Linked DNA regions of Homo sapiens: all the other regions are linked to region 2. Evidence: promoter capture Hi-C in 16 types of primary human blood cells and fetal thymus (Javierre and others, 2016). All regions are on one chromosome and are shown on one strand. Each heading gives the region's core, a stretch centred on a gene start or on the middle of the fragment in contact. The rest is flanking DNA. Distances are from core to core; before and after follow the strand shown. Region 1 overlaps POLR3G (RNA polymerase III subunit G). Region 2 holds the start of COX7C (cytochrome c oxidase subunit 7C). Region 3 overlaps POLR3G (RNA polymerase III subunit G). Region 4 overlaps TMEM167A (transmembrane protein 167A). Region 5 holds the start of LYSMD3 (LysM domain containing 3). Region 6 has its middle 25 kb from the start of CETN3.

Region 1 (3,364 bases), core at 7-2,506, 3.9 Mb after region 2:
CAGGTGCCCGCCACCATGCCCGGCTAATTTTTTGTATTTTTAATGGAGACAGGGTTTCACCATGTTACCCAGGATGGTCTCGATCTCCTGACCTCGTGATCCACCTGCCTCGGCCTTCCAAAGTGCTGGGATTACAGGCGTGAGCCACCATGCACGGCCTGGTACTTTAATTTTTAAAGTAGATAATCACATAGGTCAACAGACTGTTTGGCAAAATGATTATTGGTGTAGTTTTCAGGGCCAATAGGAAAATTACGCATCTTTCTTACCTCTAATAGAAGAGCAAAGTAGGAAATGGGTTAACAGGTTAAATAGACTACAGAAGTTCATCTTTTAAGTTGGTTGTAAAACTTAGTGCCTGTAAAACATAGTATTTCAATAAAACTGCTGTTTTCTATAATACAGATAAAAGGGATATTAAAATACATAATTGATTTGAAAAAAATCTTTGTCTCTTAATTTAAACAGGATACAGATTATAAACCAGTGCCACTGAAAACAGGAGAAGGTGAAGAATATATGCTGGCTTTGAAACAGGAGTTGAGAGAAACAATGAAAAGAATGCCTTATTTTATTGAAACACCTGAAGAAAGACAAGGTACTGTATTGGAGTCTTTGATTATGTGGCTTAATGTATACAGATGAAACAGTGTTTAAGCACAAGATATATAATCATTTAATGTTGATTGATTCGATTCAATAAAAAATTATCAACTACTTTGAAAAAGCTATTTATGTTGCTTTAACAGAAAAAATACTTTAAACTTTTTGATATTTTATTTTTAGAAATATCTTTCATTATAATTTTATATGTTCAGTGAAAATTATGAAAAACAGGAAAATTTTAAAAAGTAAAAATTACCCATTCTTATGTCTAGAGAACCACTATTAATATTTTAGTATATATTCCAGATTTTTTCTTATGCATGTATATTCTCTTTACAAAATTAGATTCACATTACTTTGTATCTTCCTTTTTTCACTCAGTAGCATATTAGCATTTTCACATATCCTTATTATTCTTGGAAAACATGACTTTTAATGACTGGTAGTCTACTCTGTGGATATATTATTATTAACTGTAACTAATTTCCTGCTTTTTAAATATTATTTTCAGTTTTTTGCTTGTATATATAATGCCGTGATTGTTATCATTATACATAAACCTTTATGCATGTCTCTGATTATTTAATATTTAGGTTAAAAAAATTTTTGAGACTTAATTTTGTTTGGTTTATCATTTAGGTGTTTGATATGATGTAAAATATGTATTCATTGGTGCTGCTTAGGGAAGAAAGGAAACATTATAGTTGGAGAGGGCTCAACAGTCTCAGGCTAGAAGTGGGAAGTGGTTTTATAGGAAAGGAAACCATTCCTGAGTAGCTGTTTAGCACAGCAGTACTATATTGATTTTTCACTTTCTGCCCTTGATTGTTGAGATTAGAGAGACTGATATCATCTTTGAGTTCTCAAAACAACATCATTAAAACATGAGAAATTCGTAGTGTCATCTCATTCCATTCGTATTAAAAATGCATTCCATTTTTCCTCTCTCTCTAGAATAGTTTGAATTGGCTGAGTCAAAAAAGGAAGCCTTATGTAATGATCTTAGCATGTGCTTATAATTATAGGAAGCATTTTAGACAAATTCATTTAATTCTCAAAACATAGCTGCTTTAAGTTATATAATGGTTTGATAAGAAATATTTTATCTCAAAAATACTTAATTTTTTTTTTTTTTTTTTGGAAATGGGATGGAGTCTCACTCTTGTCACCCAGGCTGGAGTGTAGTGGTACAATCTCGGCTCACTGCAACCTCCGCTTCCTGGGTTCAAGTGATTCTCACATCTCAGCCTCCTGAGTAGCTGGAATTGCAGACGCACAGCACCATGCCCGGCTAATTTTTGTATTTTTAATAGAGATGTTTCACCATGTTGGCTAGGCTGGTCTTGAACTCCTGACCTCAAGTGGTCTGCCCATCTCAGCCACCCAAAGTGCTGGGATTACAGACAGACGTGAGCCACCATGCCCGGCCTAATACTGAAATTTTTAACTCTCATGATGATGTTGCATGCTTTCGTCTGTTTGAGTTCTAAAATAAAACTTTTCATTTTAAAGATTTTAAAAAGTAAGACCAAATGAACTAATCAGTATTCATTCTTATTAGAAAAAATAGTAATGCAGGGTATACTTTAGTGCTTTTAAAATTGATCTTTTCTCTATGACACAGATGCACTTAGGTGAATGTGGTTGTTATTAAAGCACATGTCTAATTTAAAAGTATGTCAAATCAGACTGGACACGGTGGCTTACTCTTGTAATCCTAGCACATTGGGAGGCTGAGGCAAGCAGATCACCTGAGGTCAGGAGTTCGAGATCAGCCTGGCCAACATGGGAAAACCCTGTCTCTATTAAAAATACAAAAGTTAGCCAGGCATGGTGGTGCATTCCTGTAATCCCAGCTACTCAGGAAGCTGAAGCAGGAGAATTGCTTGAACCCGAGAGGTGGAGGTTGCAGTGAACTGAGATTATGTCACTGCACTGCAGCCTGGGTGACAGAGTGAGACTCTGTCTCAAAAAAAAAAAGTATATCATATAATTAAAGCATTTATGTGAGTGTTTTAGACAGGGATATTAAAAACATAATTTTGTTGTTGGTCTATGGGAGTGGTTGGCTAGTACTTGGATTAAGGGGCACTTTATCTTTGATAACTATGCAATAAAGTATTTCAAAATATAAGGGTTTTTTTTTTTTTTTTGCTTTTATTTCTTTCAGGGGAAAACTCTTGTATAGAAATTTCCAAATTGATACAAGTACATTCTCCCTGAGATCTTCATGTTTACTTCTGTCTTTTTTTATTTTATTGTTTTATATTTTATTTTGGAGATGAGGTCTCGCTCTGTCACCCAGGCTGGAGTGCAGTGGGACAATCATAACTCACTGCAGCTTCCAAACTCCTGGGCTCAAGTGATCCTCCCACCTCAGCCTCTTGAGTAGCTGGGACTACAGGCGCACACACCATGCCCGGCTAACTTTTAATTTTTTTTTTTTTTTTTGTAGAGACGGGAGTCTTGCTTTTTTGCTCACACTGGTCTCACATTCCTGGCTTCAAGTGATCCTCCCATCTCGGCCTTCCAAAGTGCTGAAATTACAGGCATGAGCCACCGCACCCAGCTTACCTCTGTTTCCTGATATAGTGTTTAAAAAACACACGCATGTTAAAAATAAAGGTTTTTCTATAAAATATATACATTTATATGTGCCTATATAGGTTTATATAATATGTGTATATATGTGCATACATAAATTTATATAATATCCATGCTATGAGTGAAAAAGAATTGGCCAGACTGAAGAGAACGA
Region 2 (3,319 bases), core at 336-2,835:
TCTGCCCTGCAGGTCCCTAAAGAGTTAACTCAAAGCCAGATACCCAATGGAGGCTCAATTAATGTGAATTAGAAGCAACAATGAACCAAATCCACAGATAACATTACTCACACTAGATTGAAAAGTGTAATCTAGAAATATTAAGTGTGAAAAAGTTTCTCAATTATAGTTAAATCAGAATTCTTTAATATGTAAAGGCAGTGAACGGAATGTTAAAAAAAAATGGAATGTCACATAACTTCTATAAATTAGGTGGTAGAGGACACCAGTTATGATGCATTTCATGAACCCCTACTCAAAAAGAAGCTACTTGTTGAAACAAAATATGAATTTAAGTGTTTTTTTTAAGTGTTTTTTTGGGGGGGAGGGGCATGGTTGTTCTCTTCCAAAAACTGAAAAAAAAAAAAAAAAAAAAGACGAAAAGAGCATATATGTTATGCCCTTTTCAAAGCAAACCTTAGGTCTTATTGGAATTGTTTCCTAATGCTATATAAATGAGACACGTGAGGCAATATACACTCCCCCACAGATGAATAACATAACATTTAGGTTACCAGGGCCTTTCACAATCTAACCTAACACCACTTTCCCAGGTTCATTTATCACTGGTTTCTTCTCAATACCTTCTGGTCAAAGACCACCAGAAGCACACATGTAATTGACAAACGGGGTTTATTATTCATTGCAGTAAGGGTTCTCTGTAAAATATTAGAAAATGCTTATTGGATTTGGGATTTTTTTCTCCTAATATTGGCTACCTTACCAAATCTTAGGAGGAAGAAAGGCTAGATCAAGGCTAAGATTGTAATTGGTAAAGAAGCAGAAGTCATCAAATTAAACCAGATAGGGTGATGTCCGGTCATTTTCGTGGCTTGGACAATGTTTTATCTGTGTTCAGATGTGATTACACAGTGATCATATTCTTTTCTTAATGAACACTGTCAGAGTGGTCTTGTTGGATGCTAATGCTTGCTGAAATTGTGTACGTTCATCAGGCGGACACCAGTTCCTAGTCCAGGCTAGCTCCAGGTGTCAGAGGCCACTTTTCCCTTCTACTCCTCACACATGCTGTACTCATACCAGACTTGAGTTTTCCCTGCCCTTTGTTCTTCCTTCTTTTTTATTCGATTCCCATTATCTTTAGTGATCATTCCCTTAGCATTTCAGTTTTCTCTCTGAAGTCCTTTGTGCTGCACGTTGTTTGATTACTTGTGTTTATGCTTTGTTTCTTCAGCTAGGATCATTAGCACATATCTCTCAGCATTGGCAAAAGTCCTCGAAATCATTGACACCTAGCATATACTTTATTTTTAAAAAAGAAAGAAAGAAGAGAAAAGGGATGGGTTTATTGTCCTTTTCAACAGACTAGAGTATACGGGGTGAAACTGCTTCACTTGATTCAATAAAATCGTTTCCGGTAACAGGCCCCAGGAATCCTAGACCTAAGCCTGGCGCGAAACTACATTTCCCACAATCCTTCGGGGGCTGATAAGGCTCCGCAATGGTCTGAACTACAATTCCCACAATCCAGGGCGATTTCCGCTTTGTCGCGTTTCCTCAAGGCTCCGCCCCATTTCCCATCTTTCTTTTCAGTCCTTGCGCACCGGGGAACAAGGTCGTGAAAAAAAAGGTCTTGGTGAGGTGCCGCCATTTCATCTGTCCTCATTCTCTGCGCCTTTCGCAGAGCTTCCAGCAGCGGTATGTTGGGCCAGAGCATCCGGAGGTTCACAACCTCTGTGGTCCGTAGGAGCCACTATGAGGAGGGCCCTGGGAAGGTTAGTGTGTAAGGGGCACGGCTTCGTTGGGGGAGGGGGCGCTTGGCTGTGACTCGCGCACCTGCAAGGCCGCCTCCGGGCTGTGGCGTGGGAGATGATAGCCAGAAACCAGGCTGAGACGCAGACTAGCATTCCACTTAGCCCAAGGACCAGTGAGGAAGCTGGGCATCCTAGCGCGTAGCCGCTAAAGGAATGGGCAGGTAGATCCGGAAGCCCTGCCTCCATCAGCCACCTGACGCCCCCTCCCCCGCCCCGCAGAAAGCCCTGAGATGGCTCCGGGAGGCCACGGCTGTAGGTGTGTTGGTTAAATCCGAGCTGGAGGTCATCGGACCCGAAATGAAGGTCATTGGAAAATCATGAGGAAATCAGGGCCTCTGGTTATGGAACAGGCTTTTTAAACTAGCTGCCTAAGTTAGAAGTACTAACCCTTCACCTCAGTTAAGGCTGGGTTTGGCCTCAGGTGTAAATAACTTAAACCACATAGCAGTAACAATCTCGGAGGGTCACACGAGGCCTAGTCATAAAGGCCAGAGAAGGTGCTTGGTAATGAAAAACAAACAAACAAAAAAAACTGTGGGCCAGGTGCGGTGGCGCACGCCTGTAATCGGGAGGCTAAGGCGTTCGGATCACCTGAGGTCAGGAGTTCCAGACCAGCCTGGCCAACATGGCGAAACCCTGTCTCTACTAAAAAGTACAAAAAAATTAGCCGGACGTGGTGGTGTGTGCCTCTAATCCCAGCTACTCGGGAGGCTGAGGCAGGAGAATCGCTTGAACCCGGGAGGTGGAGGTTGCAGTGAGCCGAGATCGGGCCACTGCACTCCAGCCTGGACAGAGCGGGACTCCGTCTCAAAAAAAAAAAAAAAGAAAAAAAAAGAGCTGTATTGCACTTAACATTGCCATGTATCTTCTAAGGTGACTACTTAGGACAGTAGTTTTTTCGATTTTCTAAAGTAAGAAACTTCTCACTATTTGACGTTTGAGTCCTCAAGACCATTCATTGCCTAGTGCTTAGTAAAGCCAGATTATTTCTTGCCATGTAGTGTTTTGTGATGAAGGTCATAGGATTTGAAAGATAAATGTTTAAAACGATGTTATGATTTATGGCATATGTTAACCTGATGATGTAAAATATAACTAGCATTTCCTGTATACTTGTATTTTGATTATTAAGCAGATGATTTGAGATTCAATTTCGATTACTTTTTCTCTTTTTTTCCAACAGAATTTGCCATTTTCAGTGGAAAACAAGTGGTCGTTACTAGCTAAGATGTGTTTGTACTTTGGATCTGCATTTGCTACACCCTTCCTTGTAGTAAGACACCAACTGCTTAAAACATAAGGATGTTTCAGTTCCTCCATTTAACAGGTAGTTAGTGGATTTCTAATCATGTTAAAGCAGGCCTTTTTATTAAGTAGCCTCTTCCCCATCACCCAGAACACACACACAAATACATTGTTGTGTAGGGCTGATTCCTGAGGTTATGTGTAGATGTGGCATTGGTGGAGACTAGTTGTAAACCTATATAAAAATATTTCAATAATGG
Region 3 (3,004 bases), core at 174-2,673, 3.9 Mb after region 2:
CCCTGTCTCTACTAGAAATAAAAAATTAGCCAGGCGTGGTGGCGGGTGCCTGTAATCCCAACTACTTGGGAGGCTGAGGCAGGAGAATCACTTGAACCCAGAAAGCAGAGGTCGCAGTGAGCTGAGATCGTGCCACTGCACTCCAGCCTGGGCAACATATATATATTTATGATTTCCTTTATTTAAATTCAACAATTTACAGCAATTATATGCATCTTCTATATGCCAGGCATTGTGCTAATTGCCAAGTCTTAGACAAACATGGTTGCTTCCCTTAATTTTTGTTACATAATGCTTTTCGTTTTTCTCCTATTTCTGGTACATTTTTATGGTCTCTGGAGTTCTTTCTAGTCTTTAAATGTCAGTATTCTTCAGGGCTCTTCCCTCGGGCTTCTTTTTCTTGCTGTAATCTCTCTGATTGCATCCCTCCCCATAGTTACCCTGTATAAACATGTAACTCCTCAGTTCTTTTTCATTCAACCTATAGTAAGTGTACACTAAGTATATGCTTGGAATTGTACTAGGCAATGGGAATATGAAGATAAGATACAGTTCTTCTCTCAGGGAAATTACTAGAGAGACAAAAAAGGTAACAGTTAATATACAGTGAATAATGCTGTGATACAGTAGTACCGGATGCTATAGCGGCATATAAGAGATGCTGTGGGCACACCAAAGTCTATTTTAGGCATATCAAAGATGATATTTCAAAGAAGACAATTTAGGTGATCTGAAGAGCTAATCAGATCAAGATAGGAACATGGAATGGAGTGGACACTTGCAGGGAGAAAAAAGAACATGGAGAGAGGCTTGCAGGTGATGGGAGTGTAGCTTCTTAATTTAACTGACCAGATAAATCGGTATGGCGGGACTAGAGGGTGTTAAGTGGGCTTGTGTTGAGAGATGAAGCTGGAGAGATGAGCAGGTCATTAAGGACTTTGAATGTCAAGCTGAGAAATTTGACTTTATCCTGAGTACTGTGGGGAGCATTGAGGGGTTTTAAACAGTGGAATGGTATAATCATGTTTATATTTTAGAAAGCTCAGTTGCTTTGAATGGAAGAGCCAAGTTTGGGTCATATTTGAAAGCTTATTGCTGTAAACCAGTGGTTTTCAATACTCTTGAAAGGATATTTGGTAGTGTCTGGAGATATATTTGGTTGTCACACTGCCATGGGGGTAGTAGGGTGGTGGTGCTATAGGTTCTAGTTTGTGTGGTCAATACTCTAGACAAGACTGGCATTTGCAATGCTCTGTTGACAATGTCTGCTTGCACTGAGTTCAGGATCAAGACCATCCTGGCTAACACGGTGAAACCCCGTCTCTACTAAAAATACAAAAAATTAGCCGGGCGTGGTGGCAGGCGCCTGTAGTCCCGGCTACTCGGGAGGCTGAGGCAGGAGAATGGCGTGAACCAGGGAGGCAGAGCTTTCAGTGAGCCGAGATCGCGCCACTGCACTCCAGCCTGGGTGACAAGAGTGAGACTGCGTCTCAAAGAAAAAAAAAAAAGATTACTAACGTCACACAATTACCAAATTTGAATCACTTAAACAGAACTTGGAGGAGGTACTCATGTCTAAAACACAAGTGACATATGCTTGATTTGGAATACTAGAGTATCCCTTCCTTATTCATCTCCACTTTATGTACAAATCGGCTTACTTTTATTTCTACACAAGTGTTCTTGCCAAAGGTCTCCTTTACAATGAGACCTCATTTGAACTCTCAACCATGCCACCCTCCCCTGGTACACAGGCCCCAAGCTTCACCCAGGTGTCTAAATATTGCCAAATTTTTTTGGCACCAGAAAAGCCAGGCCAACTTTCCAGAGATGGGAATGGTCTTAGCTGAATGCAGAAACTTAAAGTATCTAGGGAAGAAAAAGTAATGAGATAACTATCTAAAGAATGCATATACAGTGAATAATGCATGTTACCTTTCTTGCATTATGTAAATATATTAAAAATCCCACTATCCAGATTTAAAAAAAAAAAAAAACTTTGGAAAAAAATTAGTAAAATTGATAGGAGACTTTCTTTTGAGAGTAGTCTGTATTTCTTACTATAGATAGTAGAGATGTGGACATTAATTTCTTATTATAGCAGATCTCAATCATGTGCAAAAATGTAGTGACTAGTAAAAGAAACACCCATGGTCTTATCACTCAGCTTTAACAATGGTCAATTCATAGCTAATCTTTCAACCACTCATTCATCTACCCAATCCCTCCCTGTCCACCCATCCCATTCCCCGTGCCCCATGTGCCTTGGATTCCAAAGAAAATCCTAGGCATCGTATCATTTCATCCACAAATATGTCAGTATGGATTCAAAAATAAGGGCTCTTTAACAACATCACTGTATCATTATAACACCCCATACAATGAAATATAATTCCTTAATTTCATCAAATATCTGGCCAGTATTGAATTTTCTTGGTTGTCTCAAAAAGTTTGTTTGTTCCAAACAGAATCCAAATACAATCCATACATTGCAACTGATTAATAACTCTTAGGTTTAATTTATATCCAAAGTGGATTTTTGATTGTAAGATACTGGAGGCCCGGAAAAATAAATAAGAAAGTAATATTTGAATTTTTGATAGAAAGCACAGATATTTTCTGAGTTATTTGCATGGATGATAGTCTTATTCAGCCACAAGAAAAAGAAACTAAGAGGTCCTAGATAGAATATAATATAGGCATCTTTTGGATTTGGTTTGGTATCATGCCTTTTTTTTTTTTTTTAATAGGAAGTAAAAGTCTTTCTGGCTTATGCTTAGTTATGTTTTATGACTAAAAATCTCAGTACTGGTGTAGTCTAATGGATGTTAATGTAAACTGGCTTTTTTTCTTGTCTGTGCATTTTTTGGGTAAGTGTTTAGTGGTTTAGCTAACTAAACTATGTATCATCCCAGTAAGCTGTAATGTGTTAGTAGCTATATTATCCTATTGAGATGGTATGGGCAACCCTTCATGTTCTCTTAGCTAGTTAGTGCCTGACAAG
Region 4 (3,400 bases), core at 298-2,797, 3.6 Mb before region 2:
TACCTTTATTATAATATTCATTTCTGAAGGGTAGACATTGTTATCAGATTATCAGACTCTGAATCTCCAGCACCAATCATATGCCTGTCTCACACTAGAAGCCCAATAAGAGAGAGTTGAAAAAAATAAAATGAAATTAAGAAAGTGCAAGAATATTACTGTGTATATATAACAAAGAATAACATTTTCATCATATACAGGGAGATAAAATATGTCAATCTCACACAACAGCCAGCAATATGCTTGTTTAGTAAACTTAGAGGCACCTTCTAAAAAACAAACAAAAAAATCAGGAATGAAACAAAGAATGACTCATGAGAAAACTTAGTTACACAAAATTGGTACTTGCGGCTGAGTGCTTACTTGAAAAGTCCTAAAGAATTTAGTGAAAAACAGTTATAGATCTTAAGGAAATTGAGTAAGGTGGCTGGGTACATAATTAAAATATATAAATCAATAGCCTTCATAATCATATTATCATTCAGGAGAAAGACAATGGAAAAAAGATAGCATCCAGAACGAACAGCTAAAATATCTAGGAATAAGCTTAACAAGAAATGTGCAACATTGGCATCAAAGAAAAAAACTGACAAAATCTTAAAACATATGGAAGAACATAAAAGTAGAAGAGACTGTTGCTATGGTTTAGAAATGGTTTTTCATCCCTACCAAAGCTCAGATTGAAATTTGATCCCCAGTAAGGTAGTGTTGGGAAGTGGGGCCTAGTGGGAGGTGTTTGGGTTTGGGGACGGGGTGGTGGGGGGTAGATCTCCCATGAATGTCAGGGTGCTCTTCTCATTAGTGAGATCTCACAAGACTGGATTAGTTTTCCAAGAAATGAATTCTTTCCGGAGAGAGCACGTTGTTATAAAGCCATGATGCTCCTCCCTCCTTTTCACCAGGTCTGTTTCCCCTTTGACCTTCTCAGCCATGTTGTGATGCAACATAAAAGCCCTTCCCAGGAGGGCCAAGCCCTACTACTCTTAGCCTGCACAACTGAGAGCTAAGTGACCCTTTTTTCTTAACCAATTACCCAATTTCAGTTTTTTTTTAAATAGCAACATAACATGGATTAAGAAACCTGGTATGCCAGATTTTTATATTGGAAGGCAACATTGTAAAGACAACCTATAAATTTAAAGTGAACCCAATACCAACAAGTTATCTTTTAAACAGACAACTAATTCTGAAGTTCATATGGAAAAAATAAGGCAAGAATAGCCAGGAGAATCTTAAAAACAAAAAAATGGACACTAGAAACTGTTCCAATGTCATTTGAATCTTTTCTATATTTTTATGATAAATACATGCAAACTACTGAAAAAATTAAAAAACTATATACATTATTTACCAATATTCTCAAGGACAAAAAGTGCTTATGCACAATGCTAAGCAGTAGGCAAAAGGGGATCAAAGATTTCAGACAGCACATCTTAAGGTATGTAAACTTTTATGCAAAGAAAGTGTGAAAATGCTGTGATTATCTGTGGATAGTTTTTTGGTGGGGGGTGGAGGGACAGAGTCTTGCTCTACTGCCCAGGCTGAAGTGCAGTGGTGGGATCTTGGCTCACTGCAACCTCCACCTCGTGGGTTCAAGTGATTCTCCTGCCTCAGTCTCCCCAGTAGCTAGGATTACAGTCATGCTCCACTACGCCTGGCTAAATTTTGTATTTTTTTTTTTTTAGTAGAGACAGGGTTTCGCTGTGTTGGCCAGGCTGGACTCAAACTCTTGATCTCAAGCGATCTGCCCACCTTGGCCTCCTAAAGTGCTGGGATTACAGGCGTGAGCCATCTCTAGATAGTTTTTAATCTAATTCTCAACTTTTCTAGATTTCTCAAATTGTCTAAGTGACACTTTTATGGTCTGAAAAAGACAAAAATGATTTGTAATTACCAGTTTAATACTTGTTTTTCTATGCATTATTTTTTCATAGATATAACAAAGATAAAATTTAATGTATCTTGGGTTTTAATTAAATTGGGTTTTAATCTTAAACCTGTGAAAGCCAGTGATACACATTTTATAACATAAATCAATGAATTAGCTCATGATCAATTGTAGATAAAAAGCATGGTATCTCACAATGCTTATCTTTCAAAGGTCATATTTTGAATATGTATGTGAATATATTAATAAATAATATTGGATAATGACCTCATAGAAAATAAAGCAGATTTCCTCCCAACATAACTAAATGTGTATTTGGTATCCACTTTGTCTGAGAAATGAGGCAGTGGGGATTAAAAAAAAGGCACATGGTATGATTCCTTCCCTACAGGAGTTTATGGCTAACAATAGCAATTACTGATATTCACTGAGTACTTGTTTTATGTTATCCTCATGTATCTGGGGTAAATATTACCTGAATTTTATTCATGATTGTTATTACCTGTATTTTATACATGAGACTGAGGCACACAGCAGTTATAATCAAGTAATCAAGTGAAAACAGAGCATGTACTTTAAAAAGTAAATAGTAACTCATTGTTGAATGTGGAAGTGAGTTATGCAGACAAAAAATGCCATTTTTGTAAGAAAAAGTCAGGAAAAGCTTCATGTAGAAAGCAGGAACGGAGTCAAACCTTGAAAGGGCACCATTCAGATGGGCAAATAGCAAGCTCCAGAAGAGAAAAAAAAATGTGGGAAAAAAACCCTACAGAAAAAGTCATTGGCACGTTCAGGGAATAATGAGAATCTTACTGTATTTTAAGCAAAAGATTCCTACAGTAAAATGGTTGGAAAACAAATCTTCAAAGTAGGTTTATCATTTTCCTAATGCAGTATCTAAATTCATGACTTTGTAATGTGTTCTCTTTCCTTCTCCAAATGTGTTTTTAAAGAAAACATGCTTAAATGATATAATGTTCAGGATTGGTTTCTAAATAATCCAGTGCATGTGTGGTGGGAGAGGGGTAGGGTTGATGATAAAATGCTGAGAATATGAGGGTTCATTATAGGCTTCTACCTCTTTATGTTTGAATGTTTTCATAATAGAAGATAAAAAGGCACTTAAAAACATGCCTATTAGGAAAGTAGAGTGTGTATATACGTTTGTGTGTGAAGCCATTTACAAAAGAAAACCATTTACAAGTATGAAATATATGATATATACAACTTTGTTCTGGGGGTTTAAAGCCTCTAAAGTTTAAAACAAATAATCTTAGGTGGTAAGTCTTTTAGATGTACTCAGACTCTGGTCAAAAGTGTGTTTCTAACTTACGGACATTAGCCTGCCACCTATAGCATTCCCCTTAATGCTTAGCATCTGTTGTCTGGTGACATAAAATTTTAGTCTCAGGGTTAAAGGAAACAGATGTTCCTCTTCAGTGAAAAAATAATTGCAATTTTCAACAGAAAAATGTTATTAAAAGGGAAAGGAGGAATCTAAGAAAAGGTAAG
Region 5 (3,436 bases), core at 376-2,875, 3.9 Mb after region 2:
TTTCAACTGTTCTCTGAAGTGCTACATTATTACCAAGAACTAGGATTCCTAACTTGACAGCTATGAAACTAAAGAAAACTATCACATTTTATATCTCAAAAGCAGTTTTGAAGTCATGACCACATCTTTTCCTCCAAGGATAACAGTTTTATTTCCACTCATTTAACCAGGTCTTTTTTTAATCTTGTGTCTTTAACCTAGGGAATGTCTTTGAATCCTGTAGATTCCAGGCAAATTTTATACATATGTATATTTTTCTGGGGAGAATTTTCATTGCTTCATATTCTCAAAAGGCATCCATGATCAAAAAAGTTAAGACTTAATATACAGCAATTTACACTTGGCTATACCGACCTACTTATGTGTCTTGTTAGACAGTTTCACCCTAATAATTTGTACTTAGAACTTCAAAATTGGCTTAGTAGTGCAGCTAACTGAAAATCACTAAGCAATGCCCCAAAGCCATTTTAGATACTTGTTTCTATCAACCTCTCTCCACGATATATTTCTAAATATAATTTAAAGGTCAGAACTTCACCTGTCTCACTATCTCTCCACTCCCCTTTATAATGAAATGCAGGCAGCTGACTATCGTGTTACAAATCTGGGTATTCTGAATGATCAAGAACTGGCTGTGTCTTCAACCGAAGTGAACAGACTGACCCAGGCGATCACTCCAGTCTACTACTCAGAGATTAGAAAATACATAATATTTAAGTCATCTGGCTCAATTCTATTCACCTCTCTTAATTCTCTTAGAGCAGGAAAAAGGCACGAACTCCCTTTCAGAAACTTGGAACAAGCCTGCGTGCTACCTAGATTACGAGGGGCCACAAAACAGTGTTAAAGCATTCTTCAGCTCAGTCTGTAACTGAAAACGGTTTCCCAAACACCTTCGTACTGTAGAATGGCTGCTGGGTGTTTCGCCTTGACCTTCTTTAACTAAGCAAGGTGCAATAAGAGGGTCACAGGGCACAAGTTAAAGCTGCAAAGGGACAGAATCAAAGGCACCCTATCCGCTGCCAGGGACAATTTTGTTTTTTAAAACTTAACTACCTCCTCCCTCTGTATTCCACACGTCAAGTTTTTCTTTCCCTGCTATCGTCAGCGAAGATTACGTCTCAGAGTCTTCTGTCACAGCATGACACTTGAACGATGTGACAAGATGCCGTCAGCGAATATTTCACGCCAACATAAAGTCGTGGGAGAAATGCTGTGTTTGGGTGGGAAATTAGCTGCCCAGGTAATCCAGCAGGTAGGCGTCCTTCCTCTGAGCCTCAGTTTCCCCGACAGTGTGACAAGAGGGCCTGGCAGGGCTGGTCTGGAAGTTCTTCCCTGTCTCGGGGGTGTCCGCCACACGGGCCGAGCCCGGCCCTGCAGCCCCCACCACACCTGTGGCCGAGGCTCAGCGCCTCCCGTGAGGACGCAGCTGGGGCTCAACCCCGCCCTCCTGGACCGGGCTACCCTCACCTCCTGCCACCATCTTTACCTGTCCCCGTTAGCAGGGAGCACTCTGCGAGAAGATGGCCAAAAGGTCCGCCGCCGCCGCTGTCCCGGGTAAGTTCATGGCCGAGCCTCTGCTTTGGGCTGACCCCGTCCGCCTCCGCCTCTGCCGCCAACGTCTCCGCCTTCCGGGCCGTACGCCGCCGCCACGTCCGCAAACCTGAGATGCGTCATCGCGTCAAGTGGGCGGAGGTGGGAAGGGGCGGGGGAGGACGCGGAGGGCAGCCCAAAACGGGGGAGTCCAACCACAGGTCCACGCCCGGCACGCAGGCGCAGGGACTCCTCCGGGGCCCGGGGGCGGGTCCAATCCCCGGGCCCGGGGGCGGGTCCAATCCCCAGCCCCGCCCTTGACTCCGCTCCTTCCGTGCCGCTTCACTCCCCGAGGAAAAGATTTGGTGGCCAAGTCAGCGGATCCAACCCGCGACCACCAGCGACCTACTGGCTGCGTCTTTGTCCAGCGTCCACACTGCGCTGGCAGAGACTGTCGGGTGCACCCTGAGGACGAGGCGTGGCTCAGGATGTGTCGGGGAGCTGTCTTGCATTTTTTTCTTGCTGTGCATCTCGAATTTTCTTTAGGGTGGGAAAGGACACCTCAAAAACACTGTTGACATCACGGTTTCAGAAAATTGCGCCATGTTTGTTACCCTTTTCATGCTGAAGACTCCAGACTGCTGCAGAAGAGGCAGAATTCTGGAGAGAAATCCTTGGGGGACCGAGGACGAGGGTTGGAGGGGGTTGTCTCACCCTTCCTGTTTTTAGGTGAGGGAAGTGAGCCACCTAGAGTCAGGCCCCAGGAAATGTTTTCCCTGGCTCGAGGAGTCAAGGGAGTCAACAAATTGTAATCTAACTTATTTTGGTTTGAAAATTAACTGAGTCATTGGTAGTCACCATTGGACTCTATGGAATATTAGCTTATTAAATAAACTCATGACTTCATACATGATTTTTATCACAAATGTGTTAAATGAGTATCATAATGTGTTTGAATTTATGTATGACTTTGGCAAAAGCCGCAACTACTTTTGCACCAACCTAATTAATGAATGTAAAGCATTTTAATGAGTCTGATGTCTCTCAGTGTTGATATTAGAGACGTTGCACTTTGACAACCATGCTAACTGTTACGACAATATCCATTTTAGGCACAAATAGCTGGGGTGCAGGGTGCAGAGCAGTGCTTTTCAGAATGTCTGAATATTTATACATTAGAAAGCCTTTGAAGCTTGGTTTTAAATTGTTTTTCAAAGAGTATGTTTTTGGTTTTCTGGTAAGTGCCTCTGCAAAGGTTAGGAGTTTTGCATTGCAATAGTTTTCTTTTATTAGCAGGGATAGGCACTGTGCTTCCCAGCGCCACAAAAAAAAACTGCAGGAGAAGACTTTTTTAAAAAGTTTGTCTGAATTGTTCTGTGTGTTGTTGCCCTCATGACACCCCTGTCTGTAACCATTTATCACTGAGACGTTCTCTCATCAGCAGACAAAGGATATATTCCCTGCTTGATATGTAGGACTTCGGCTGCTTAGCCCTCATGAATGTTAATGGGAATACAACCTTCTTTCTGTCTATAGGTTACTTTTCTTATTTTAATGTCAATAGACAGCGGAATTAATGTGAGAGCCAAAGTGATAGATTTCAAGCACTTCTATAGGACCGATACCTGTATCCTTCATATAAATAACTTTCTCAAAGATATCTGCATGCTCTTGAATAGTTATTTGTATTTAACAAGGATGCAAATATTAAACTTTTTATAAAAATGGAAGAATAGGATTATATTTTATTATTAGAATATACAAAAGAAGCAGTTAGCGTGAATTTTGGCCAAGTTCCAAAAAGCCGGCCAGTAGGAACAAGCATTTTGTCTTTGAGAAAAAGGATGTCCCCAGTGCTCAGCAGAGCCAAAGGATTTTTAGTGTTTCAAGATTTCACCTGACA
Region 6 (3,309 bases), core at 370-2,869, 3.8 Mb after region 2:
TTTAAAAGTTTTCTTCATGGCCAGGCACGGTTGCTCATGCCTGTAATCCTAGTACTTTGGAAGGCCAAGGCAGGGGGATCATTTCAGGCCAGGAGTTTGAGACCAGCCTGGCCAACATGGTGAAACCACGTCTCTACTAAAAATACAAATATTAGCCAGCCATGGTGGTGCATGCCTGTAATCCCAGCTACTGGGGAGGCTGAGGCACAAGAATTGCTTGAACCCAGGAGGTGGAGGTTGCAGTGAGCTAAGATCACTCCACTGCACTCCAGCCTGGGCAGCAGAGCAAGACTCCATCTCAAAAAGAAAAATTTTAAATAAAGCTTTCCTCACTTGGTGAGTTTTAACTTTTTGTGCAGTACTAAAAAGTTATCTGAAAGCTCTGAATGCGACCTGGAGCCTGTCAACTGTGATCTATACTATAGGGGGTTCTGGCTGGTCATTTCATTGGTTCTTCAGTTGTCTTTTCTCTTGACTGCTCAGATTTCCCAAAGAAGCATCTTTTGCCTAGACTTATTGTGGACACTCTGAGAGCTAAGTGGAGAAAGAAAGATTAGAGAGAGGAGTCTGAATATTCAATATGCAAATGTTCAATTAATCCCTTTTTTCAGCAAGTATTGCTCCTCCCGACCTCCGCAATACCCCACCCTACCACCACTACTCTTCTTGATGCATGTCAATCCAGAGAGGTTTTGTTCTATCTGCTTTGGAGACTAACCCCATCAAGTTGGGTAAAGGCAGTTGCCCACCTGTACAATTGGGGATTTATTTAATGGCCTCTTAAGGAAACTTTCAACCAATCTTCCTATTTTTAGCCCCATTTTCAATCTCATTTTCAGAGGTACCTGGAAATGCCAATTCCTGAACCTTCTGGATATTCTGCAGTGTAAAAGTTTCTCAGCTTTTCCCAAGTCAGCAACAAAGAATTTGGCTTTCTAAGTTTGCTGAGTCAATATTATTCATTCATCTGCCTTCTAGCTTCCAAAATTTTTGCTATTTCTTTCTCCTCCATTCTTTTTGTCCTTGTGGGTATGTACCTTTTTAAAAATATCCCTTTACTGTCATCTTAGGGAGTAAAAGTATACGTGTCTACTTAAACTCGACTTACACATTTTCTCTTTCCCTCTCTCTCATTCTCTCTCACACACACTTTTTAAAATATAGGTAGAATATTCTAGCAAAAGAAAATAAGTGTCTTTCCTACCCCTGTCTGTCACCAGTTGCCTCTTTGCCTCCAATCCCAAGCAGGTAATCACTTTTATTAGTTCTCTATGTGTTCTTCAAGAGTTTCTTTATGTATATAAAATGAAATATAAATATATATTCTTATTCCTCCTTTTTTACACAAATAGATTACTATAAGACTGTTCTGCATTTTGCCATTTTCATCTAATATTGCTTGAAGCTCTTTGCATATCAGTATAGACCTCTTGCTCATTCTTTTTAACAGCTGTATAGTATTCCAATTATTTAGCCTCCCAACAAGGGACATTTGATTTGTTTCCAATTTTCGCTATAAAAAACCTATAATGAATAGTCTTAAACATAAACAATTTTGCATGTGTACAAGTATATCCATAGGCTAAATTCCAAGAGATCTGTTAGATCATGTGGTGTAGTTATTTGTAATGTTACCAATTGCCCTCTGTGGGAGTTGTACCAATTTGTAATGCCAGCAGTGAAAGGATTCTGGTTTATTTCCCCTCCTCCTTGCATTTAACAGAGTATATTACAAAAATAATTGAATAAGTAAAAGTGGTACCTCGGTGTACTTTAATTTTGCATTTCATTAATATGAGTGATTTCATATGTCTAATGTAAATTTTTATTTCATTATTATTGAACTTTATTCAGTTCTTCATAAGGTAGAGTTAATAATTTTATTTGGAGAAAAAAGTAGTGTGTGTGTTTATGTTTGTATGTGTGTGTACATGTAACCAAAAGTTCAAAGGCATCATTACAACCTTGCTTGGCCAAATGTATAATTGCAGTATATATATTTAAAAATCTCTTGCTACATCTAAAGTATGGTATTATGTAGGTTGGTGTTTATTCAGGACAAGGAAAATTATCCAAATAAGTTATTTAGAACAAGGAATTTATCACGCAGAAGAATATGTCTGGGATAGAAGGCCCATTAACACTCAAATTATGAGTTCACTAATCTGGTCTAGGTTGAGGAAGTATGTCAAGAACAATAGCTTGCTCATATCTGAGATGTGTTAAAATTAACTGTGTGTTTAATAATATTGGGCTTAGAATCATATGGTAGAAAACATTACATTAACTGAGTAACGTAATCATTCTCAGCGTCAATTTCCTGATCTGAGAAATGGACATGGTAATATCTGTCCCACAGTGTTGGTAAACTTTCTTCACCACTGACACCCATTAATATAAATCACTTCTAATCAATGAACTCAGAAAGGAGGTAGTCATATAAGTCAGATAAAAACATCTAGAATTTAGAAAATTATACAGCTCTCAGAAAGAGAATATTTGAACCGTAAAAAATAAGGAATATTAAGATATATATGACTATAAATAAATAAAATAGCACTTGATGCTAAGAAAGCATGCATAATCTCAAAGCAGAAAATAGAATGTCTCACAACTAGAAGTGAGGCAAAAGGATAGATTTACTAACTTTGTGATTATAGAACTTACCTATTTTGTAATTATAAATAGTATAGTATGAAAATGTTTCATAAAAACTATAAGCCTTTAAATCCCAGACAAAAGCCAGTGGAGTAGGGGATAAGACATACTGAATTCGCAAAATTTAGGAAGATATGTTTTCATGAAAAAGAGTTTTCTCTGCTTTCTTTAGGTAATCTTGTAGATATATTAAACAGAAATTCTTCTCAAATAAAGACTGAATTTATATTTTCACTTAATAGTTTATTCTACTTTTAAAAAGCTTAACTAACAAATCAAGAAAACCTCATATTTTGTTTATTTTTCTATTTTAATTACTAGATATAATGTAAAAATAAAATTATACCACAAGAAATACCATTATGTGGAATATAAAAAGCACTTTTTTTCAAATAGGTGTATACACTTAAAAAATAAAACTATAATATCATGTAACTGTTGTGTAAAACAAATGTTCTTCCTCAGATTCATTTTTTTGTTGCAGCAATAGGTCCCCCTGGTGGAGATTGAAAATATATTTTGTTCTATTTTTCTCTTTCCAAGTCACTATCTTAATTTGAGTAATTAAGTGCCATTCTTCCTTGAATAAATGAATAAAGAAGGAGTTTAGAAGGCCTGTGAATTGACTGTCATCCCTTCTGCAGGTGAATT

The links. Contacts are between HindIII fragments. The CHiCAGO score rates a contact against its expected background, and 5 or more counts as called.
Region 1: a fragment that was not itself captured here is called in contact with the fragment with the promoter of COX7C in region 2 in 2 of 17 cell types (total CD4 T cells and naive CD4 T cells); the score reaches 7.3 in total CD4 T cells.
Region 3: a fragment that was not itself captured here is called in contact with the fragment with the promoter of COX7C in region 2 in 1 of 17 cell types (non-activated CD4 T cells); the score reaches 7.4 in non-activated CD4 T cells.
Region 4: a fragment that was not itself captured here is called in contact with the fragment with the promoter of COX7C in region 2 in 2 of 17 cell types (activated CD4 T cells and total CD4 T cells); the score reaches 6.9 in activated CD4 T cells.
Region 5: a contact is called between the fragment with the promoter of LYSMD3 here and the fragment with the promoter of COX7C in region 2, in 9 of 17 cell types (non-activated CD4 T cells, activated CD4 T cells, naive CD8 T cells and 6 more). The highest score is 28.9, in non-activated CD4 T cells.
Region 6: a fragment that was not itself captured here is called in contact with the fragment with the promoter of COX7C in region 2 in 1 of 17 cell types (total B cells); the score reaches 8.2 in total B cells.

Annotation. Positions count from the first base shown.
Region 1 is chr5:90,487,532-90,490,895 of GRCh38, forward strand. It overlaps POLR3G (RNA polymerase III subunit G), which reads left to right. Exons shown (of 8, transcript NM_006467.3): 3 at 469-598. Among named protein-coding and RNA genes, the nearest start is that of POLR3G, 14 kb to the left of the region's middle. The HindIII fragment of the contact is 5,238 bases long and covers 1-3,364 here.
Region 2 is chr5:86,616,356-86,619,674 of GRCh38, forward strand. COX7C (cytochrome c oxidase subunit 7C) reads left to right here and starts at 1,586. Exons shown (of 3, transcript NM_001867.3): 1 at 1,586-1,775; 2 at 2,998-3,141. The coding sequence starts at 1,701. The coding sequence ends at 3,114. RefSeq lists enhancers at 1,254-1,333, 1,345-2,010, 1,397-1,691, 1,624-1,713, 2,011-2,676. The HindIII fragment of the contact is 5,230 bases long and covers 1-3,319 here.
Region 3 is chr5:90,508,887-90,511,890 of GRCh38, forward strand. The region is part of intron 7 of POLR3G (RNA polymerase III subunit G); the gene reads left to right. Among named protein-coding and RNA genes, the nearest start is that of LYSMD3, 19 kb to the right of the region's middle. The HindIII fragment of the contact is 674 bases long and covers 1,087-1,760 here.
Region 4 is chr5:83,066,010-83,069,409 of GRCh38, forward strand. All of the region lies in intron 1 of TMEM167A (transmembrane protein 167A), which reads right to left. Among named protein-coding and RNA genes, the nearest start is that of TMEM167A, 9.7 kb to the right of the region's middle. The HindIII fragment of the contact is 2,006 bases long and covers 545-2,550 here.
Region 5 is chr5:90,527,959-90,531,394 of GRCh38, forward strand. It overlaps LYSMD3 (LysM domain containing 3), which reads right to left and starts at 1,626. Exons shown (of 3, transcript NM_198273.2): 1 at 1,490-1,626. RefSeq lists enhancers at 897-1,397, 2,023-2,282 and a silencer at 1,663-1,912. The HindIII fragment of the contact is 4,420 bases long and covers 1-2,723 here.
Region 6 is chr5:90,383,154-90,386,462 of GRCh38, forward strand. No RefSeq gene overlaps it. Among named protein-coding and RNA genes, the nearest start is that of CETN3, 25 kb to the right of the region's middle. The HindIII fragment of the contact is 2,597 bases long and covers 322-2,918 here.